Linked DNA regions of Homo sapiens: regions 1 and 3 are each linked to region 2. Evidence: promoter capture Hi-C in 16 types of primary human blood cells and fetal thymus (Javierre and others, 2016). All regions are on one chromosome and are shown on one strand. The core of a region is centred on a gene start or on the middle of the fragment in contact, and the rest is flanking DNA. Distances in the headings are between cores, read along the strand shown.

Region 1 (2,946 bases), core at 307-2,806, 390 kb after region 2:
CACTGCAACATCCGCCTCCTGGGTTCAAGCGATTCTCCCGCCTCAGCCTCCCTAGTAGCTGGGATTACAGGCATGTGGCACCATGCCCGGCTAATTTTTATATTTTTGTAGAGACGGGGTTTCACCATGTTGACCAGACTGGTCTTGAACTCCTGACCTCAGGTGATCCGCCCACCTCAGCCTCCCAAAGTGCTGGGATTACAGGTATGAGCCACTGCACCCGGCCTCAGACTTCAACTCTTGACCACGAATCCTCAACCCCTCTGCCTCAGAGCACCCAGAAGCATCTTCCCAAAGAAAGATCTGACCAAGGAACTCCCCAGCTTAAAACCCTTCCATGGCTCCCAGTACCCTTGGAGAAAACTCTGATTTCTTTCAGGCTCTGCTCCAGCATCACCTCTTCCCTCTCTCTCCCCACAACCCATGCGTCAGCCACAGCTGCCTTCTTTTTAGCTCCTAGACTATACCAAGCCCATTCCTACCCCAGGCCCTTTGCACTTCCTGTTTCCTCTACAGAGAGGGTCCTTCCCCAGCCCCTTACTCGACCTTTCCGTCATTCAGCTAACATCTCCATGACTTTGTCTATACTCCTACCACCCGATCACTATCTCTTTGTCTCAGCATTTTCACTGTGAAGATGTCTCCCTGTGTGCTTTGTCTATTTGGCCGCTAGGCTGCCAGTCCCACGAGGGCAGGGACTTCTGCCCACAACACAAGTGTCTCTCAGGTCCTAACAGAGATCCTGGCCCAGGAGAGTCGCAGGCAAGACGTTCAACAAACTCCTCCCTTCAGTCTTCCTTCCGCAGCAACCCTCTCATAGGGATATCTGAAGGCTGGCGAGGCCAATGTTTTGGTTTGCGTGGCCTTTCCCTAGTTGTTCTATGTGTTTGCTCATCTCCCCAGAACGAGGCCAGCATTGCAGCATCTCCAGCACCTAAAACATTTGCTACTAAACCATTAAATATTTGTTAAACAAATAAATGTGGAGGACAAGTACAGGGGACCATAAACACCCCAGGAGGGACTGCAAAGAGCCCGGGGACGGTGGGAAAGGGCATTCCCAGCGGTAGAAACGGCGCTGTGTGAAAACAAAACAAAAGCCTGGACGTTGCAGGGAAGGAACGCCGGCTGCCAGTGATAGGGAGGAGAGGCTGGAGCGGTGGGAGTTCAGAGTGGTGTTGAGTGGGTGCCGGGCGGTGGGCCGGCGTCGCCCTCACCAGGGCAGGCGGCGGGTAGGCTCACCATGACTTCGGCGAAGATGTCCCCGGCGTACTCGCGTTCTCCCTGCAGCCCCAGCGCGCTCAGCGCCTCCTCCAGCCCCGGCGGCCTCGCCAGGCGTCTTGGGGAGACAGTGGGGCCCGCGGGGAAGCCGTCGGGGACTGCGGCGCTTGAAGGCTCTGCGTCGAGGGAGGCAGCGAGACTCTGCAAAGGAGAGGGCCTGGGGGCCCAGCGCCTAACGATAGGCCCGAGCCGGGAGCCGGACCCCTGGTCCCTGCCTCTCACCAGCATCCTCCAGGAGGGTGTTGCGGGCGAGGCCAAGCACCGACCCTTGCAGCTAGGGGAAGAGACGCGCGGCGGGCGCTTTAAAGGCCCCTGGGCGCGTGCGCACTGAGCCCGCCTCGCCCGGGCAGGTGCACAAAGGTGAGTGCCCCGCAGGCTGGCTCTGTCCTCTCGAAGCCCTCTAAGGTCGGACAGCTGGAGACAGATCCTCATCCTGCTGCCCGGAAGCAGCCCCTCTGGGCCTCGCTTTCCTGACCATAAAGTCGGGATGATTTCAAAATGTAGAATCAGGGTTTGCACCGTCAGAGGATGGATGTACAAACATAGATCGGAGGTTAGAATGACCCTTGTGGTGTCGGTGTCGCAATGGAATTGGAGATAAAATTGTGTGAACACATGGTTGTTTACATAGAAGTTAAGTGTTGTGTGGCCGGGTGTGGTGGCTCACTCCTGTAATCCCAGCACTTTGGGAGGCCGAGGCGGGCGGATCACGAGGTCAGGAGATGGAGACCATCCTGGCTAACACTGTGAAACCCCATCTCCACTAAAAATACAAAAAGTTAGCTGGGCGTGGTGCCGGGAGCCTGTAGTCCCAGCTACTCAGGAGGCTGAGGCAGGAGAATGGCATGAACCCTGGAGGCGGAACTTGCAGTGAGCGAGATTGGGCCACTGTACTCCAGCTTGGGCGACAGAGCGAGACTCCGTCTCAAAAAAAAAAAAATTTTTTTTAAAAAGTGGTGTGTATGCAAACATGTATTTCCTAGCTTAATCCACTGGGAGAGCTTAAGAGCAGCGACACCCCAATAGTGAGAAGCACCCCTAACATCCAAACCCTGGCCGCCACATCCCATTCTCCACTAAAAGGAACCAGGGCTACCTGGAGAAATGGCTGATCCCAGGGTCATACAAGAGAAGGTACAAGATCTGGAATATTTTTGTGTGGCAGAAAGTGTCCCAACAGCAGGGCAAGTCACATAGATGCAGAAGTCACTAGCTAAATCTAGAAAATGTGAGCATCAAGATGATAGTCATAGATCACAAACCACTGAATAAAATTAAAATACAAGTTTATTCTGATATAACTCAGGCAGTGGGAAAGAAAAGCTCTTCTAATCTTTAGAAAGTGAACTAATAAATGTGTTTTGTTTTCAGACAGGGTCTCGCTCTGTCACCCAGGCTGGAGTGCAGTGGTGTGAACACGGCTCACTGCAGCCTCAACCTCCTAGGCTCAAGTGATCCTCCCATCTCAGCCTCCCAAGTAGCTAGGACTACAGGTGTGCGCCATCATGCTTGGCTAATTTTTAAATTTTTCTGTAGAGACTGGGGTATCACTTTGTTGCCTAGGCTGGTTTTGAACTCCTGGGTTCAAGGAATCCTCCCACCTTGGCTTCCCAAAGTGCTAGGATTACAGGTGTGGGCCGCCATGACTGGCCGAACTAATAATGT
Region 2 (2,815 bases), core at 236-2,735:
TTTCCTAGGGGACCCTCTCCATATCATGCCAAGACCGCTTCCCTATTTCAGGTCCTCCATATTAGGAACCAGCCTTCCAGGTAGTCTCCCTGTACCATATCCCAATTCCCCCTACCACAACAGGGTTCTTCCCCATATTACTCCAATATCCCATCCCAATCAAGGCCCACTCCTCCTGATGGGAGAAGGAGGAGGTGTCTCTTCCCACAGTTTAGAGTGATCATCCTTTTCTCCCCTACACTGCTTCCTTGCCCCCCTACACACACACACACACCCTAATATTCCTACCACAGACCTTTCTCCAGGCACCCCTCTTTATACCAGGGTCATTCCACAACTGTGTCCACTCCTAGAGGGCCTCAAAGTCAAATCCCCAAGTTATCACATAGGGTTCTCTCCTCCCAGAGTTGTCAGCTACAGCAAAAATCTTCTCCCCATGGGCCACTCTCTCCCCCATGTCAAATCCCTTTCTCCTATTCCATGCCTTGCCACTCCACGACTCCTCCACCCTTGGAGCTTCCCCCAAAAAACCACCTCTTCTCCGGGGCCCTCCCACACCAGGATCATCTCTCCCAGCCCCCACCCCCTACCCGGGTCAGGGCTGGCGCGGGGCCCACGGGGGGCTGGGGCGCGGTGGGGCCCCCAGTGGGGTGGGCGAGCGGCCAGCATGGCGGCGGTGGCGGCGCTGAAAAGGCGACCGCCTGTCTCTGGCCCGGCCGGCCCCGCGGCGGGGAGGGCAAGCGGGACAGGAGGCCCGGTGGGTGACAACAGCAGCCGCCACTGCCACCGGGGGCGGGGAGAGGAGGGGACAAGGGTCAGCCCAGGGCACGCGGGGGAAGAGTAGAGCAGGTGGACGGGGGAGGGGCGACACGCCCCACCCTGAGTGACCACCAGCCCCTAGGGACCCGGCGTCCCGCCCCCCACCCAGGAGGCCCTCCTGGGCCTGCTGAGACCGGAAGGCGGGGCCCGACTGAGCTTGGCAATCGGCACCTGCCATGGCAACAACTGTACCATTGGTCGCTGGTGCCAAGAGCTCAGCCAATCACAGCCTAGGGCAGCTGTTGCTAGGCGACGAAGAAGCGGCCCGCGGAGCTGAGCCCAAACAAAGGGCGGGAGTGGGGCCCGGCTACCCCCTCCCAGCCTCCCTCCTGCAACTGCTTCCTCGGGCTTGGCCGGTTCCAGGAATTCAACTATGAATAGCCAGGCAGGGCCCGCACCTGCCTGCCACCCCCCTCCTCTCCTCCCTTGGCCTCGTGCTAAGTCTCACGGCGACGGGAGCAGGGCGGATCCCGTCCTGCCCACCTCCCTGCGACCGCTTGCCGCCCCACCCGTCCCCGCGCCGTTACCTGAAGGAGCGGGCAAGGGGACTCAAACTGCTCGGGGAGCCCGAGCTCAGACCTGCCCACTGGCTGAGGGTATCCGGCGGACGCGGCAAGCCAGGGCCCCGATTACCCAGTAATGCAACCAGCAAAATGGCGACCACAACAAACCGGCCCCCCCACGCCCTGGACTCCGCCCCCATCCCTCCCTCTCCGCTCCCCTCACGTGACCCACACTGACACTCCGCCTGCGCGAGATGGCCGCTTACCTGCACGCATGCGCAGCGAGCTACCAATCCCACCCAAGAACCGAAATCCAGGCTGCCGCTGCGCAAAGGCAGCTAGAAACGGAGCATGCGCTCTGTGACCGAGTGAGAATTTACCCAACCCCGCAAAATTGACCAAGGGTGCGTGCTCCCTGTGTCAGCAGGTCAAGGGGAGGAATGAGCAGCAGACATGGGAGACGGATGAGTCTTTTAATAGAAAAACACACGTGCAACAGTATCAACACACATCTCTCGCAATCCTGACAGCGCTGAACTTCAGTTCTTCACCTTGGGGGGTGGCCTGTGAGAGGAAGATAGGTGATGAAGGAGGGTCCCCAGGATCATGGCACTCGGGGTGCAAGGGACAGAGATGTCTGTCTTGGTGTATTGCTGGGCCCCTGCTCACCTGTACACTCCCACGACCACGGCATGGTCTCTTTCATATGGCTCAAGGGTCAACTGCTCCTGCGGCTTCATGTTCTCCTGTTGCATCTTTTTCACTTCGGAGGCAAACACGGCCTCGGCTGAGGCTGTGGAGTCAATGCAGTTGGCCTAAAGAGGAGAAAGGACTAATGTCTACAACAGGGCTTTGGGCTGTTTTTCTCTTGTGTGCTCTTTAAACCAGATGTTTTCATTATTAATTCAAGTAAAACTCAGTGCTATGGTTCTAGTGTGTCCCCCAAAGTTCATGTGTTGGAAACGTAACCCTTAAATGCAAGAGTTGAGAGGTGGGACCTTCGAGAGATGATTCAGGTCATGAGGCCTCTGCCTTCCTGAATAGAGTAATGCTATTATCACAAGAGTGGGTTGCTGATTAAAAGGATGATTATGCCCCCTTTCTATCTTGCTCTCACCCTTCTGCCAATGGATGACAGCAAGAAGGCCCTCGCCAGATTCAGACCTCCAATCTTGGACTTTCCAGCCTTTGGAACTGGGAGCCAAATAAATTTCCATTCATTATAAATTACCCAGTCTAAGGCTGGGCGTGGTGGCTCACGCCTGTAATCCCAGCACTTTGGGAGGCCGAGGTGGCTCAATCACGAAATCAGGAGATTGAGACCATCCTGGCCAACACGGTGAAACCCTATCTCTACTAAAAATACAAAAATTAGTCGGGTGTGGTGGCGCACACCTGTAGTCCCACCTACTCGGGAAGCTGACGCAGGAGAATCGCTTGAACCCAGGAACTGGAGGTTGCAGTGAGCCGAGATCGTACCACTGCACTCCAAC
Region 3 (3,142 bases), core at 602-3,101, 260 kb after region 2:
CAGGAGATCTATTACACAACAGGGTATCTCCAATTAATAACAATATTCTGTAGTCTTGAAAAATGCTAGGAGGGTGGATATTAAGTGTTCTCACCACAAAAATGATAACTATGTGAGGTAATGCATTGTTAATTAGCTAGATTTAGTCATTCCACAATGTATACATACCATAAAACTTCATGTTGCACATGATAAATACATACAATTATATCTGTCGATTTAAAAAGAAAGAATTTCTGTCCTAGATCATTTGAGCCCCTCACTCATTTTCTTAATATACAACCAGCAGTCGCAATGAATCACATATTCCCAATGCTCCTGTTCTGTAGAGAGTCAAGGGGAATGACTTAAAATGACTACACAAAAAACAACAGTTAAAACATATTAAACATTATTATATGCCTAGCACTGCTCTAAGGGGCTTTACGATATTAATTCATTCTAATGACAGAACCAATATTCCAACCCAGATACTCTGGATCCACTCCCCTATTCTTAACCACAACAGTGTACTGCCTCTCACAGTACACACACACACACACACACACACACTCACACACACACGCCTAAAACACAACTGGAGCTGCCAAACCTCAGAGAGATCTGGCAAGTATTACAAATATCATCTCATGGACTCCCTGGAAAAATCCTGGCTCTTGTTGATACCAATTTCTGTGCGGTCACTTTTCCACTACCGAATGCCTCACAGGCAATGGAGATCATCCAACCATCTCCATTCTTCCCTGTTTTGAAAAGGAGGTCTGTAAAGACCAACTGATGTCTAGTGTGTGATTCCACCTAAACACTAATCTCCTCCTTCCCAAATATGGGTCTAAAATGGAGCTTTAATATTAACTACTGGAGGTGTATTTCTATACCAGCTTCGAAAAAGAGAGCGCACAGGAAGGTGTGAACGATTTGCCAAATTGTTTTGTGACTATTAAGTGGAAAGGTGAAGGAGGGGGCACGAATCAATTTGCATATCCCCCTAGTTTCACTGAAAATTTAAGGGGAAATCTCAATATTCTAAAATCAAAAACGCATGTCTTGAACAAATACAAAGCACAAACTCACCCTTGACTTTAGGTGTGCAGCAGTAACGCTCTCATCCTCCTCCAGGTCCTTCTTTTGGATAAAAATACGACTGGAGAAGGATACGGCAAGCGTGAGACTCCAGGCATTTCTTGGAGCGCAGACTAAGTTTGAAAACACCCTCCCTCCATAGCCACAATTTCCCTCACTTCACACGAAATAGGAAGGAAGTAAAAGGAAGAGGAATCGATTCAACCAGTACAACCAGTTTGGAGCTGGTTTCTGGGGACAGAGCTCTGAGGACGCTGTGGTTCTCAACATGTAGCTGCCCCCCTGGGGAACACTCGGGGGCACTTCTGCGCTTTCTTGTGTAAAGCTTCATTCTCGGCTCAATATCTGACCTCCCTACTGGGGCCATTCCTCTGCTGCAGTCCCCGCAGCTGTGAAGCGGAAAGAGGGAGGAAGCAGCAGGAGCCTAGGGGCACCGGCACAGTGTCACTCAGCAAAGTGCGCTGCGTCCACACGCCCTCCCGGGCCTGTGCATAGAACCTCACGCACACACTCACAGTCCCCTCCGTCACTCATGATCTCACAATCCCCCTCCTCTGATACCCGCGCACACACACGCCTGGGGATCCGGCAGATCCCGTCTGCACCCCCGGGTTCCTACTCTGAGCGCCTCCCCCTAGGCCACCCGCACTGTCGGGTCAGTCAGGCTGGAGCCCCAATCCGCAGAGATCTCCCGCAGCCACAGATCTCTTCCTCAGACGTGAAGACCTTACCCCGCTATGTCGTCGACCCCGGAGACCGGAAGTGGACTGGCGCGGTGGCCGCTGGGAAATACAGTCCCGAACAGAAAAAGCCTCAGAAGCCTTGAGCTGTGATCCGTTCAGGTTGATCCCAGCATACTATGGGGGCTGACCCCTAAGGGAGCCGAGCCTAGTGGATTCGTGGGAGTTCCAGCCCGCGGGGTGCACAGGTTGTTGCCATGAGCAAGGATCCCCATGTGAGAAGAGCGTTTCCCTCTCGGAGCGTCAGTATAATTTACTTTTTCTCTCCATGGAGAATGCAAATGAGCAGAACTTTTAAAGAAGAAAGAAGAATTTAAAGTAAAATTATGTCAACATGTAGGTGCTTTAACTCCTTTGTCTCAGACCCCAGCGATAGGCTTCCACTTCTCTGTGCTATTTGAAGGGGACTTAGGATAAATTTGAAAAGCTTGAACTAAAGAATTGGTTGGTTATATACTAGGAGAGGAAGTGTGGTTCACATTGGAGATTTCAGAATCAAATGTCCTGGATTCTTCGAGACAATGTTCCTGTTATCTGGAGAGAAAAACGTGATTCAGGACGACATGGAAACGGATAAAAATACACAGATAATTACTTGCCTTATCTTGAAGGATGAATAATTAACACTTTGTTAAAATAGTATAAACAAATGCAAAAAAGGGCTTGCTTTTCCTAGGAAGAGCCTGATTTCACTGTTGTAGTCTAACAATATTTAACTTTCAAAATCATTTTTCTAGTTTCCTATGCTACATAAGGAGGAAACATGTAATAATAAAGAGCAAAACGTCTTTTCATTCCAGAATTGTGACAGAAAACAAATAAGATGATTAACTCAACCATATCAATAATCACATTAAATGTAAATGGTCTAAACACCTTAATTTAAAAAGATTGTCAGATTGGATTTTTTAAAAAGTCAGACCCAAATGTGCATCAATGATAGACTGGATTAAGAAAATGTGGCACATATACACCATGGAATACTATGCAGCCATAAAAAGGATGAGTTCATGTCGTTTGTAGGGACATGGATGAAGCTGGAAACCATCATTCTGAGCAAACTATCGCAAGGACAGAAAACCAAACACCAAATGTTCTCAGTCATAGGTGAGAATTGAACAATGAGAACACTTGGACACAGGGTGGAGAACATCACACACCGGGGCCTATAGTGGGGTCGGGGGAGGGGGAAGGGATAGCATTAGAAGATATACCTAATGTAAATGACGAGTTAATGGGTGCAGCACACCAACATGGCACATGTATACATATGTAACAAACCTGCACTTTGTGCACATGTACCCTAGAACTTAAAGTAT

Evidence for each region. Contacts are between HindIII fragments. The CHiCAGO score rates a contact against its expected background, and 5 or more counts as called.
Region 1: the fragment with the promoter of CCNP here is called in contact with the fragment with the promoter of DYRK1B in region 2 in 14 of 17 cell types (neutrophils, erythroblasts, M2 macrophages and 11 more); the score reaches 22.0 in neutrophils.
Region 3: a contact is called between the fragment with the promoter of ZNF780A here and the fragment with the promoter of DYRK1B in region 2, in 1 of 17 cell types (fetal thymus). The highest score is 5.2, in fetal thymus.

Annotation. Positions count from the first base shown.
Region 1 is chr19:40,225,133-40,228,078 of GRCh38, forward strand. It overlaps CCNP (cyclin P), which reads right to left and starts at 1,557. Exons shown (of 5, transcript NM_024877.4): 1 at 1,243-1,557. The coding sequence starts at 1,509. RefSeq lists a silencer at 1,245-1,364 and an enhancer at 1,391-1,944. The HindIII fragment of the contact is 9,498 bases long and covers 1-2,946 here.
Region 2 is chr19:39,832,677-39,835,491 of GRCh38, forward strand. DYRK1B (dual specificity tyrosine phosphorylation regulated kinase 1B) reads right to left here and starts at 1,486. Exons shown (of 11, transcript NM_004714.3): 1 at 1,347-1,486. FBL (fibrillarin) reads right to left here. Exons shown (of 9, transcript NM_001436.4): 8 at 1,992-2,137; 9 at 1,782-1,886. The coding sequence ends at 1,862. RefSeq lists silencers at 659-928, 1,189-1,298. The HindIII fragment of the contact is 24,958 bases long and covers 1-2,815 here.
Region 3 is chr19:40,089,092-40,092,233 of GRCh38, forward strand. It overlaps ZNF780A (zinc finger protein 780A), which reads right to left and starts at 1,852. Exons shown (of 6, transcript NM_001142578.2): 1 at 1,815-1,852; 2 at 1,075-1,144. RefSeq lists an enhancer at 1,585-2,126 and a silencer at 1,674-2,003. The HindIII fragment of the contact is 842 bases long and covers 1,407-2,248 here.